2 separate regions of the Homo sapiens genome follow, and region 2 is linked to region 1. The links are contacts of gene promoters, found by promoter capture Hi-C in blood cells and fetal thymus (Javierre and others, 2016). All regions are on one chromosome and are shown on one strand. Each heading gives the region's core, a stretch centred on a gene start or on the middle of the fragment in contact. The rest is flanking DNA. Distances are from core to core; before and after follow the strand shown.

Region 1 (5,167 bases), core at 1,229-3,728:
CGCGCCACTGCACTCCAGCCTGGGTGACAGAGCAAGACTGCCTCTCAAAAAAAAAAAAAAAAAAAAAAGATAATGCCACGCTGCAGAAGCACTCTGGTATCGCGTGGCTGCATCTGCCCATACTCTGAAAGACGCACCACAGGGACGACTGGGTGGTCCGACGGAACTCAGAGCCAGGCATACTTGGACTGTACTCAGGTTACTTAACTTTTCTGAGCCTCAGTTTCCTCACATGTAAAACAAGAATTGTAATTGTTGTGCTACTGTGCGAGTGAGAGAACAAATGTAAAGCCCTCAGCCCATTCCCTGGTATGCTAGACACTCGGTGGACATTAGTATTGTTAGATAAAAAAATGAATAAAGGATAACATCGTCTGGGTCCTAAACACATTGTACAGCAGTTTCTATCTACCAACATTAACATTAATATATTAAGACAATAATGTCACTCAGCAAACACAACCACCATATGCTGAGCAGTAACTACTCAGTGCCCAGCCCTGATCCGAACACTTTCCACACACTAACTCATGTGATCCCTTCATCTACGCTGGGAGGTGGGCACGGCTGTTATTCCCATTTTACAGGTGAGAAAACTGAGGCACAGAGAGGTGAAGCCCAAGGCCCACAAACAGCAACAGAGGAGATGGGTTAAAACGCTGCCATCTGGCTTAACAGCCCTACTTCCTAACTACCACCTACGCTGCCTCTGCACTATTGCTATCCCATGAAACCCTTCCTGCCGCTAGCTGAGGGGTCTTCTGTGTCCTGCGAGTCAAGCGACCTCTCCAACTCTGTTCACTCTCGTCTCAACTAGAAAGGGTGGCCTCCTCATTCCCACTACACAAAAATGAAAACGGTCTACAATAGATTTCAAGACAGTGATACAAGCAAAGAATATGATTCACAAAGTTAAGAGGGACAAAAAACTAACAACGATGCGTTGGAGAAGCCTGGGGAAGGGGTGGTGTTATGAGGATTCTCAGGGGTGAAAAGAGAAAGTATTCCTGCGAAGGACAGGAACGGAGACATGGGTGAGTGGAGGAGGCAGGGATTTTTCCCACGTGTGTACGTTTGCTCTTAGTGACAGACAGACTTGTGGTATCTTACTTGTCAAACTAGTCACACAATGGATGAAGATTCGTGAACAAACTGTTAATTAAAAACCACTAGACACGGGTGGGGAGGGTGGGTGGTCCTCCCTACAGAATCCACCAGTCATGAGGGCGGACCAGCTCCTCCAAGAGAAAAGGACTTGGGCTCCATCCTGGCTGGAGATGGTCCCGGGTGAAGAACTCCAGTTAGTGGGGAAAATCCATCCACTGGGATCTGGGAGGGCAATGAGCTCACCTGGGGCCTCGCTTCCCGCTGCCCAGCAGCCATGTCCTCTTTCTGGCTCTCCCGGGAGGACGGCGCAGTCTCCAGAAGGCAGATCTGAGAAGAAAAAGGGAGCCAGGAAGAACCCCTTCTGCTTTCCAGCCCTGGAATCCGCAGCTCTAAAACCCCGACTCCCGCTGAGAAGGACCCCGCGCGCCCTCACAGGGATTCGGGAGGAGCCAGGAGCCCGCGGACCAGAGCAGCGCTGGGCCGCCCGGCCAGGCCCAGGCCCCACAGGCTTGGGGCTTACGGAGGGGACGCTGGACCCGCAGTGGCAGCAGCGACCCGCTGAGCCCACCAGGGCCAGGGCTCGCCCCACGCCGCTGAGTTCCTCGGCGCCAGCTGGCACTGCCAGCACCCACTGCACCGCTCAGGAAACTGAGGCAGCGCCGGGGCACCTGCCCCGTTCACGCCGCTGCGAGGCGGGCCGGGACTCCCACCACGACGGCCCCGGGACGACTTCCCTCCGCCTCAAGCCTTTCCCAGCCGGTTCCTCTCTCTCCCGCCAACGAATCGTCTCCCGACTCCACGGAAAACGGCTTTGAAGAGGAAAGCGCTGGGTGTCCCGAGGCAGGAGGAGTGGCCGTCCTGGGGACTGACTCAGAAACCGGGCCCGGCTGCCTCTGCCCTGCGCTCGGGGTCCCGGCGCCCCGAGTCCGCGAGGCCCACACGGCGCGCGCAGGGTGGGCCCGGGAGGAAACGCCTGGCCCCGCGTTCACGGCGGGCGGCGCGAGCCAGAGGCAGGGGCGTCGGCAGCGGCACCGGAGCGGCCCGTGAGGGGCGAGAGTCCAAGTCCTGGCGCGGGGGCCGGTGACAGACGCGGGGGTGCCCCCCCGCGCCCACAGAGGCCCTCGGAGCCCCGCGGCCTCAGGTCGCCCTGGCGCCAGGCGCCGCCTCCTCCCGGCACAGCCAGCCATGCCGCTCACCTCCCCAGGATCCCGCGTTCCCGGGCCGCGCCTCCCCGCCGCACTCTGCAAGCAGGAAGCTCCAGCCTCGTGACCCGGCTCCTCCGACGTCTGGGCGACCTCAAGCCCGGCGCCGCTCACCGGGCAGCGAAAGCTCCGCAGAGCGCCTGGGACCTAGAGGAGCAAGGCGGCCGCTAAGGCCTCTAGGAAATGGAGTCCACGGGAGGACGCTGGCTTTCTGGGAAGTGTAGTTCCACGCGTTTGAGGCGAGGTCGCAGCTGAGCTGTTAGGCGCCCAGACCTATGAGAGGGCCCGGGTGAGCTGTAGAGCCCCGGGTTCCTGGTTCTTCGGAAGAGAAGGGGAGGTTCCCGGAGGGCAGTAACTTGCAACTCTGTGTGTGAATTTCAGGATGGCGTGGGCGGCACGAAAACAACTACTACACAATTGGGAAAGGAAAATCCCCTGCAAAAGATGTTGACAAAGCTGGATTTCCACGTGCAAAAGATGAGCCTGTACCCTGACCGTACACCATACATAAAAATTAACTCAAAATTGATTAAAAACCTAAATGTGAGACCAAATTATTTTATAAATTACTAAAGTAAAAAGGGAAAAAACTTCAGGATGTTGGAGATGGCAATGATTTCTTGAATATGACATCAGAAGCACAGATAACAGCAAAAATAGACAAATGGGACTACATCAAACTTAAAAACTTTGGCTAATCAAAGGAAACAAAGGCAATCTACAGAATAGACGAAAATGCTTACATATCATATATCTGATTTGCAATGTATCCTGGATTTATATGGAACTTTTACAACTCAACAACAATAACAAAACCAAATAACCTGATTTTAAAATGGACAAAGGACTTGAATAGGCAATTCTCCAATGAAGATATACAAATGAGCAATGAGCAACAAGCATATAAAAAGATGGTAAACATCTCTAGGTATAAGAGAAATATAAACCCAAACTCAATGAGAAATCACTGCACCTCCATTAGGATGGCCACTATCAAAAGGATGTAAATTGGTACAATCATTACAGAAAACGGTATAGAGGTTCCTCAAAAAATTATAACTAGAGCTACATTAGGATCCACCAATCCCATTTCTGGCTATAGATCCAGAGGAAGTGAAACTCCGTGAGATACCTGCACTCCCATGTTAGCTGCAACATTATTCACCATGGCCAAGATATGGAAACAACTATCTGTTGATGGATGAATAGATAAAGGAAATGTTTTGTTTGTTTGTTTGTTTGGGACGGTGTCTTGCTCTGTCACCCAGGCTGGAGTGCAATGGCGCAATCTTGGCTCACTGCCACCTCCGCCTTCCAGGTTCAAGCAGTTCTCTGCCTCAGTCTCCCAAGTAGCAGGGATTACAGGCACCCGCGACCACGCCCAGCTAATTTTTGTAGTTTTAATAGAGATGGGGTTTCACCATCTTCACCAGGCTGGTCTTGAACTTCTGACCTCGTGATCCACCCTCCTCGGCCTCCCAAAGTGCTCGGATTACAGGCGTGAGCCACCGAGCCCGGCCACAATGTGTTTATATACACAAAGGAATATTATTCTGCCTTAAAAAAATAAAGAAATCCTGACATATGTGACAATATGGATGAACCCGGAGGACATTATGTTAAGTGAAATAAAGAAGGCACAGAAATACAAATACTGCATTATTTCATTTACACGTAGAATCTAAAATAGTCAAAATCATAGAAGAAAGTAGCATGGTGATTTCCCTGTGTGTTAATTACCAATCTTCCCATATAGGTAATTCCATATGGCACAACTGTCCCTTACTTGTAGAGCCACGCCCACCCTGTTGCCATGAACTGCAGGTGTCCTTCCATGGTTGCTTGCCCAGTGCAAGGCCCTGTTATCTCTCTCTACACTACTCTACACTTCCACAAGCTGCTGCTTCTGTTTTTTTTTGTTGTTGTTGTTGTTGTTTGTTTTTGTTTTTGAGAGACGGGGTCTCACTATGTTGCCCAGGCTGGTCTCAAACGCCTAGGCTCAAGTGATCCTCCCGCCTCGGCCTCCCAAAGTGCTGGGATTACAGGCGTGAGCCACTATGCCTGGTGTAAAAAAGATTTTTTAACAAAAATGAGATGTTTTATTGTCTTCTCTTTGCAATTAGAGTGAAAGCCAGAATCCTTGTTGTGGGCCCTAAACCATATGGCTTTTGACTCCTTTTCCAGTATCTACTGTTTTTCTTCTACACTCTGCTTCTCAGCACAAAGCCGAATGTGTTGCTGTCTTCCATAAAAATCCTTCCTCCAGTCGGGTGTGGTGGCTCACACCTGTAATCCCAGCACTTTGAGAAGCTGAGGCAAGTGCATCACTTGAGGCCAGGGGTTTGAGACCAGCCTGGCCAACATGGTGAAACCCCGTCTCTACTAAAAATACAAAAACTAGCCAGGCGTGGTGGGGCACGCCTGTAATCCCAGCTACTCAGGAGACTGAGGCAGGAGACTCTCTTGAACCCAGGAGGGCAGAGGTTTCAGTGAGCTGAGATTGTACCACTGCATTCCAGCCTGGGCAACAGAGCGAGACTCTGTCTCAAATAAATAAATAAACAAATCCTTTCTCAGCTGGGCACAGTGGCTCATGCCTGTAATCCCAGCACTTTGGGAGGCCCAAGTGGGTGGATGACCTGAGGTCAGACCAGGCTGACCAACATAGTGAAACCCCATCTCTACTAAAAATACAAAATTATCCAGGCGTGGTGGCACATGCCTATAATCCCAGCACTTTGGGAGGCTGAGGTGGGACAACTGCTTGAGCCCAGGAGTTTGAGACCAGCTTGGGCAGCATAGTGAGATCCTGTCTCTACAAAAAAAAAAAAATTATGAAAATTAGCTGGGCATGATGG
Region 2 (5,278 bases), core at 260-2,759, 620 kb before region 1:
GTCGGGCTTGGTGGCTCACGCCTGTAATCCCAGCATTATGGGAGGCTGAGATGGGCAGATCACCTGAGGTCAGGAGTTAGAGATCAGCCTGGCCAACAAGGTGAAACCCTTTCTCTACTAAAAATACAAAAACTAGCCAGGTGTGGTGGCGGGCTACGTATAGTCCCAGCTACTCGGGAGGCTGAGGCATGAGAATGGGTTGAACCTGGGAGGCAGAGGTTGCAGTGAGCTGAGATCGCGCCACTGCACTCCAGCCTGGGCGAGAGAGTGAGACTCTGTCTCAAAAAAGAAAAAAAAAAAAGATGACGCACATTGCACCAATGTCAATTTTCCCGGTTTTGATGTTGTACCATAGTTATGTAAGATATTGTCACTGGGAGAAACTGTGTGAAGTGTAAATGGGGACATCTCGATACTATCCTTGCAACTTCTGTGAATCTATAATTGTTTCCAAATAAAATGTTCAACAAAACCCTACGTGCACATGCACACACAGACACAAACATAAGCAAAGTCAAAAGACAAATGACAAACAGGCAAAAAAATTCTTTTCTTTCCCAGAACAAGACCCAAATTGATTCAGCAGACATTTTAATTAGGAAATCCTATAAATCAGGACCACTTTTAATTTCAGACACTCCGTTATGAAGCGTACATCTACATCTGGAGGATGAACAGGCCATTGAATCTCTTAAAAACTGGCTTTGCTACCTTCGCATTTGGGGGTAGGACCTTCGTAAGACACCATTAAGCTTCAAAGGGCAAAGCCTGTGATTTCTCCTCGGGGAAAGCCACATTTTAAAACCAGCTTCGGTCACAAAGAACAGCTGCATGGGAGAAGGAGACAAACCGCACGGGGAGGATGTGCAGAGCCTGAGGCCCACAGCTTCACAGAGGCCAGCACAGAGCAGAAAAACATCCAGGGTCTCTTGTCCATTCCTACAGACACCAGCAAGGATGGAATAAGAAAGTTGGGCTGGGAGGATGGGAGAGAGGCTCAAGAGATTGTTTAGGTGGGCCCAGTGGCTCACGTCTATAATCCCAGCATTTTGAGAGGCCAAGGCAGGAAGATTGCTTGAGGGCGGGAGTTTGAGATCAGCCTGAGCAACATAATGAGATCCCATCTCTACACAAAAATACAAAAATTAGGCGGGGCGCGGTGGCTCATGCCTGTAATCCTGGCACTTTGGGTAGCCGAGCAGGGGGTGGATCACGAGGTCAGAAGTTCAAGACCAGCCTCGCCAAGATGGTGAAACCCCGTCTCTACTAAAAATACAAAAATTAGCCAGGCGCTGTGGCAGGTGCCTGTAATCCCAGCTACTTGGGAGGCTGAGGAAGGAGAATCGCTTGAACCTGGGTGGCAGAGGTTACAGTGAGCCGAGACCATGCCACTGCACTCCAGCCTGGGCAACAGAGCGAGACTCCGTCTCAAAAAAAAAAAAAAATTAGCCAGCATGGTGGTGGCATGCACCTGTGCTCCCAGCTACTAGGGAGACTAAATCAGGAGGATCACTTGAGCCCAGGAATTTAAGGCTGCAGTGAGCCAAGATTGTGCCACTGCACTCCAGCCTCGGCAACAGTTTTTAAAAAGCCAGTTTTTAAAAGATTCAATGGCTTATTCATCCCCTAGAGGTAGATGTACACTTCATAACGGAGTGTCTGAAATTAAGAGTGGTCCTGATTTATAGGATTTCCTAATCAAAATGTCTGCTGAATCAATTTGGGTTTTATCTTGGAAGAAAAAAGATTTTTTTTTTTTGCCTGTTTGTCATTTGTCTTGTTGTTTGTCATTTGTGAGACCTTGTCTGAAAACAAAAAAAGGAAAAAGATTGTGACTGCTTCTGAGAAAGCTCCTGGTGTGGCTAGAGTGGCCTTGTGGGAAAAGAACAAATTCTGTAAAGAAGAAAGCAAGAAAAAGCAAGTACTTCTCCCCACACATCCCCTCGCCCGTTTGCGTCCTCTGGAGACTCCAGGCAGTAGCGGAGCACAAACAGGGCTCTTCTCGGCGTGAGACAGAAAAGACACCGCGGTGAGTTAGCTTTCCCAGGAACTGCACGGCCTCCCACCTACAGCCAACCCTGATCTTGAACCGCGACTGGCAGGGTTGAGTCCTTTACAAGCGCACACTCAAATTCAACTCTCAAATTCCCCTTCAAAACTGTCCAGGTCCCTCCAGTCCCCTAAATGGAGTTGACATCTCCCACCTTCTCCAGCCATAAACCGGTGGGAGAAAGGGTCGGCCCCAACCCACCCACGGCCAAGCTTTTACATTTTCTCCCCGACCCCGTAACACCACCTTCACTAAGTTCCTCCACCGAAAATCACAACGAAATGTATGCGTGTCCTCAGTTTTTAGTATTGTTATAGCCCTCAAGATTCCCAACCCTCGGAGCCCTGTCTTTAAAGAATCCAACCTCACGATGCCCCCAAGGGCTAAGACAGGCTCACGGTGATGCCAGCGGCTGCCCCCGCTCTCCCCGTCTATCCCCGGTCTTTGGCCCCGACGGCCACCAGTGCGTTCCTTCCCTGCAGCCCACACCACTTCTCCCACCCAGAGGTGGGGTCTATTTCCTATTCCTTAAATCTGGGCTGACCTTGTGACTTTCTATGACCAAAGGAATGCAGAAGTGACATTTCCTGACGTTGGAATCCAGGCCTTAAGAGGACTGGCAGCTTCTGTTTCCTCCCTCTTGAAAGCCAGCTGCTATGTAAGAAGGCTGACTTCCCTGAGACCACCACGCTGTGAGGAGGCCCCAGCCGAGGTGACGTGGCTATGCAGACGAGCACAAAGGCACTCGACAAGTGAGTGAAGGCTTGGTGGACCATCCAGCTCAGCCAAGCTGCCGGCCAAATGTAGCCGAGTGAGTAAGCCCAGCTGGTAGCAAGTAGAGCAAGAGCCACCCAGCTGTGCCCACTCGACCCGCAGAATCCTGAGGAATAATAAATTATGTCGCTTTAAGCCATTAGGTTTTGAGGTAGTTTGTCATGCAGTAATAGATAAAGATAGCTTTTACTTTCCTAAGAAAGAGACCAAGGACTACAAAGAAAAAATGGGCAAAAGAAAGAAATAGTTCATACAGAATGAAATGCAAATGATCCTTAAACATCAAGAGATGCTCAACCCCAGTTGTAATAAGAGAAATGCAAATTAAATTGCCCTTAGACATCATTTTGCGCAATTCAATTTGGCAAAAATCCAAAATTGTAAAATACATCGTTGGTGTGGCTGTGAGGAAACAGGTTTGGTTGTGGAGAATACAAAATTGTACAAACCTTATGGAGAGCAGTTTGGCATTGCTTATAAAAAATACAAATGTATTGGCCGGGCGCGATGGCTCATGCCTGTAATCCCAGCACTTTGGGAGGCCGAGGCGGGTGGATCACGAGGTCAGGAGATCGAGACCATCCTCGCTAACACAGTGAAACCCCGTCTCAACTAAAAATACAAAAAATTAGCCAGGCATGGTGGCGGGCACCTGTATTCCTAGCTACTCAGGAGGGTGAGGCAGGAGAATGGCGTGAACCCGGGAAGCGGAGCTTGCAGTGAGCTGAGATGGTGCCACTGCACTCCAGCCTGGGCGACAGAGCAAGACTCCGTCTCAAAAAAAACAAAAAACAAACAAACAAACAAAAAAATGTATTTATCCTTTGACCCAGCAATCCTACCTCTGAAAATCTATTCTACAGACAGATATTCACGAGTATAAAATGACCCATGAACGAGGTTATACACTACAGCACTGTTTGTAATGGTAAAAGCTTGGAAACAAGCCAAGGGCCTGCCCATGGGGAGCTGGCTGAATAAACATGAAACACAACTGGAAGAAAGAATAAGGAGCTACTTCAGGATATAGTAAGAAAAAAAAGAAGGTGCAAGATACTGTATCAATGATGTTACCTTTCTGTAAGAAAAGAGTGGAAAATAGGAATAAATATATTTGCATTTCCTTGTTGTAGTTGTATAAAGAAATACAGAAAAATAAACAGAAAATGAATAAAAATGGTTATGTGAGTGTGAGAGAGACAATTGTGGGGAAGATGAAGATGGGAGTTAGAATTTTTTTTGTATAGTTTTATACCCCATTTTAATTTTTAATTTTTTAGAGACACAGTCTTGCACTCTTGCCCAGGCTGGAGGTGCAATGGTGTGATCATGGCTCACTGCAGCCTCGAACTTCTGGGCTTAAGCAGTCCTCTTGCCTCAGCCTCTCGAGTAGCTGGGAATACAGGCACACACCACTATGCCCGGCTAAATACAGGCACACGGCACTATGCCTGGCTAAGTTTAATTAAAAATTGTAGAGATGGGGCTTCGCTATGTTGCCTAAGCTGGTCTTGAACTCTTGGCCTCAAGTGATCCTCCTGCCTTGATCTCCCAAAGTGTTGAGGTTATACGTGTGAGCCACCGTGCCCAGCCTATACTTATTTTATGCCTCATCATGTCATTTTGACTTTTGAACCATGCAAACATGCAACAAATTAAAAGCCAATCTCGGCCCGGCACTGGTGGCTCATGCCTGTAAGCCCAGCACTTTGGGAGGCCGAGGCGGGCAGATCACGAGGTCAAGAGATTGAGACCATCCTGGCCAACATGGTGAAACCCCATCTCTACTAAAAATACAAAAATTATCTGGGCATGGTGATGGGTGCCTGTAGCCCCAGCTACTCGGGAGGCTGAGGCAGGAGAATCGCTTGAACCCGGGAGGCGGAGGTTGCAGTGAGCCGAGATCACGCCACAGCACTCCAGCCTAGGTGACAGTGTGAGACTCTGTCTAATAAAAAAAAAAAAGTCTCAGGTGGAGAATGAAACAGAAGGGAGTGGCTGTTGATGTCGCTGGGATTTCTTTTAAGGATGCTGAAAATGTTCTAAAATTAGATGGTGGTGTTGGTTGTACCACTGTGAATATTCTAAAAATCATTAAACTGTATGCTTCACATGGGTGAATTTTATGGTATGTGGAATATATCTCAATAAAGCTGTAAGAAAAGAAGTAAGGCACACATACACCCCAAAACTTTCAGGAGTGAAAAAGAAGATACATCTCAGGTACAGCAAAGATTAAAATGACAGTAAAAAGTACTATGGCTTTGATACAGAAGTGCTGGGAAGGGAAGGGCACGGTCCCTGGCTAGGGCTCCACCCCCAGGCCTGCGCCCACGGACCTAGGTGAGGACAGGCATTTTTGTTTTCCTGCCCATATATTGCATTTTCCAAGACTACCCTGGCCGGCCACGTCCCTATCCTGTGCCTATAGAAACCCGAGACCCTAGCGGGCAG

What was found. Contacts are between HindIII fragments. The CHiCAGO score rates a contact against its expected background, and 5 or more counts as called.
Region 2: a contact is called between a fragment that was not itself captured here and the fragment with the promoter of ZNF354B in region 1, in 1 of 17 cell types (M0 macrophages). The highest score is 5.8, in M0 macrophages.

The regions. Positions count from the first base shown.
Region 1 is chr5:178,857,264-178,862,430 of GRCh38, reverse strand. It overlaps ZNF354B (zinc finger protein 354B), which reads right to left and starts at 2,478. Exons shown (of 5, transcript NM_058230.3): 1 at 2,304-2,478; 2 at 1,351-1,434. The coding sequence starts at 1,383. RefSeq lists silencers at 1,912-1,991, 2,072-2,271 and enhancers at 2,412-2,611, 1,896-2,628. The HindIII fragment of the contact is 7,869 bases long and covers 1-5,167 here.
Region 2 is chr5:179,472,900-179,478,177 of GRCh38, reverse strand. No RefSeq gene overlaps it. Among named protein-coding and RNA genes, the nearest start is that of RUFY1, 75 kb to the left of the region's middle. RefSeq lists an enhancer at 4,793-5,278. The HindIII fragment of the contact is 1,510 bases long and covers 755-2,264 here.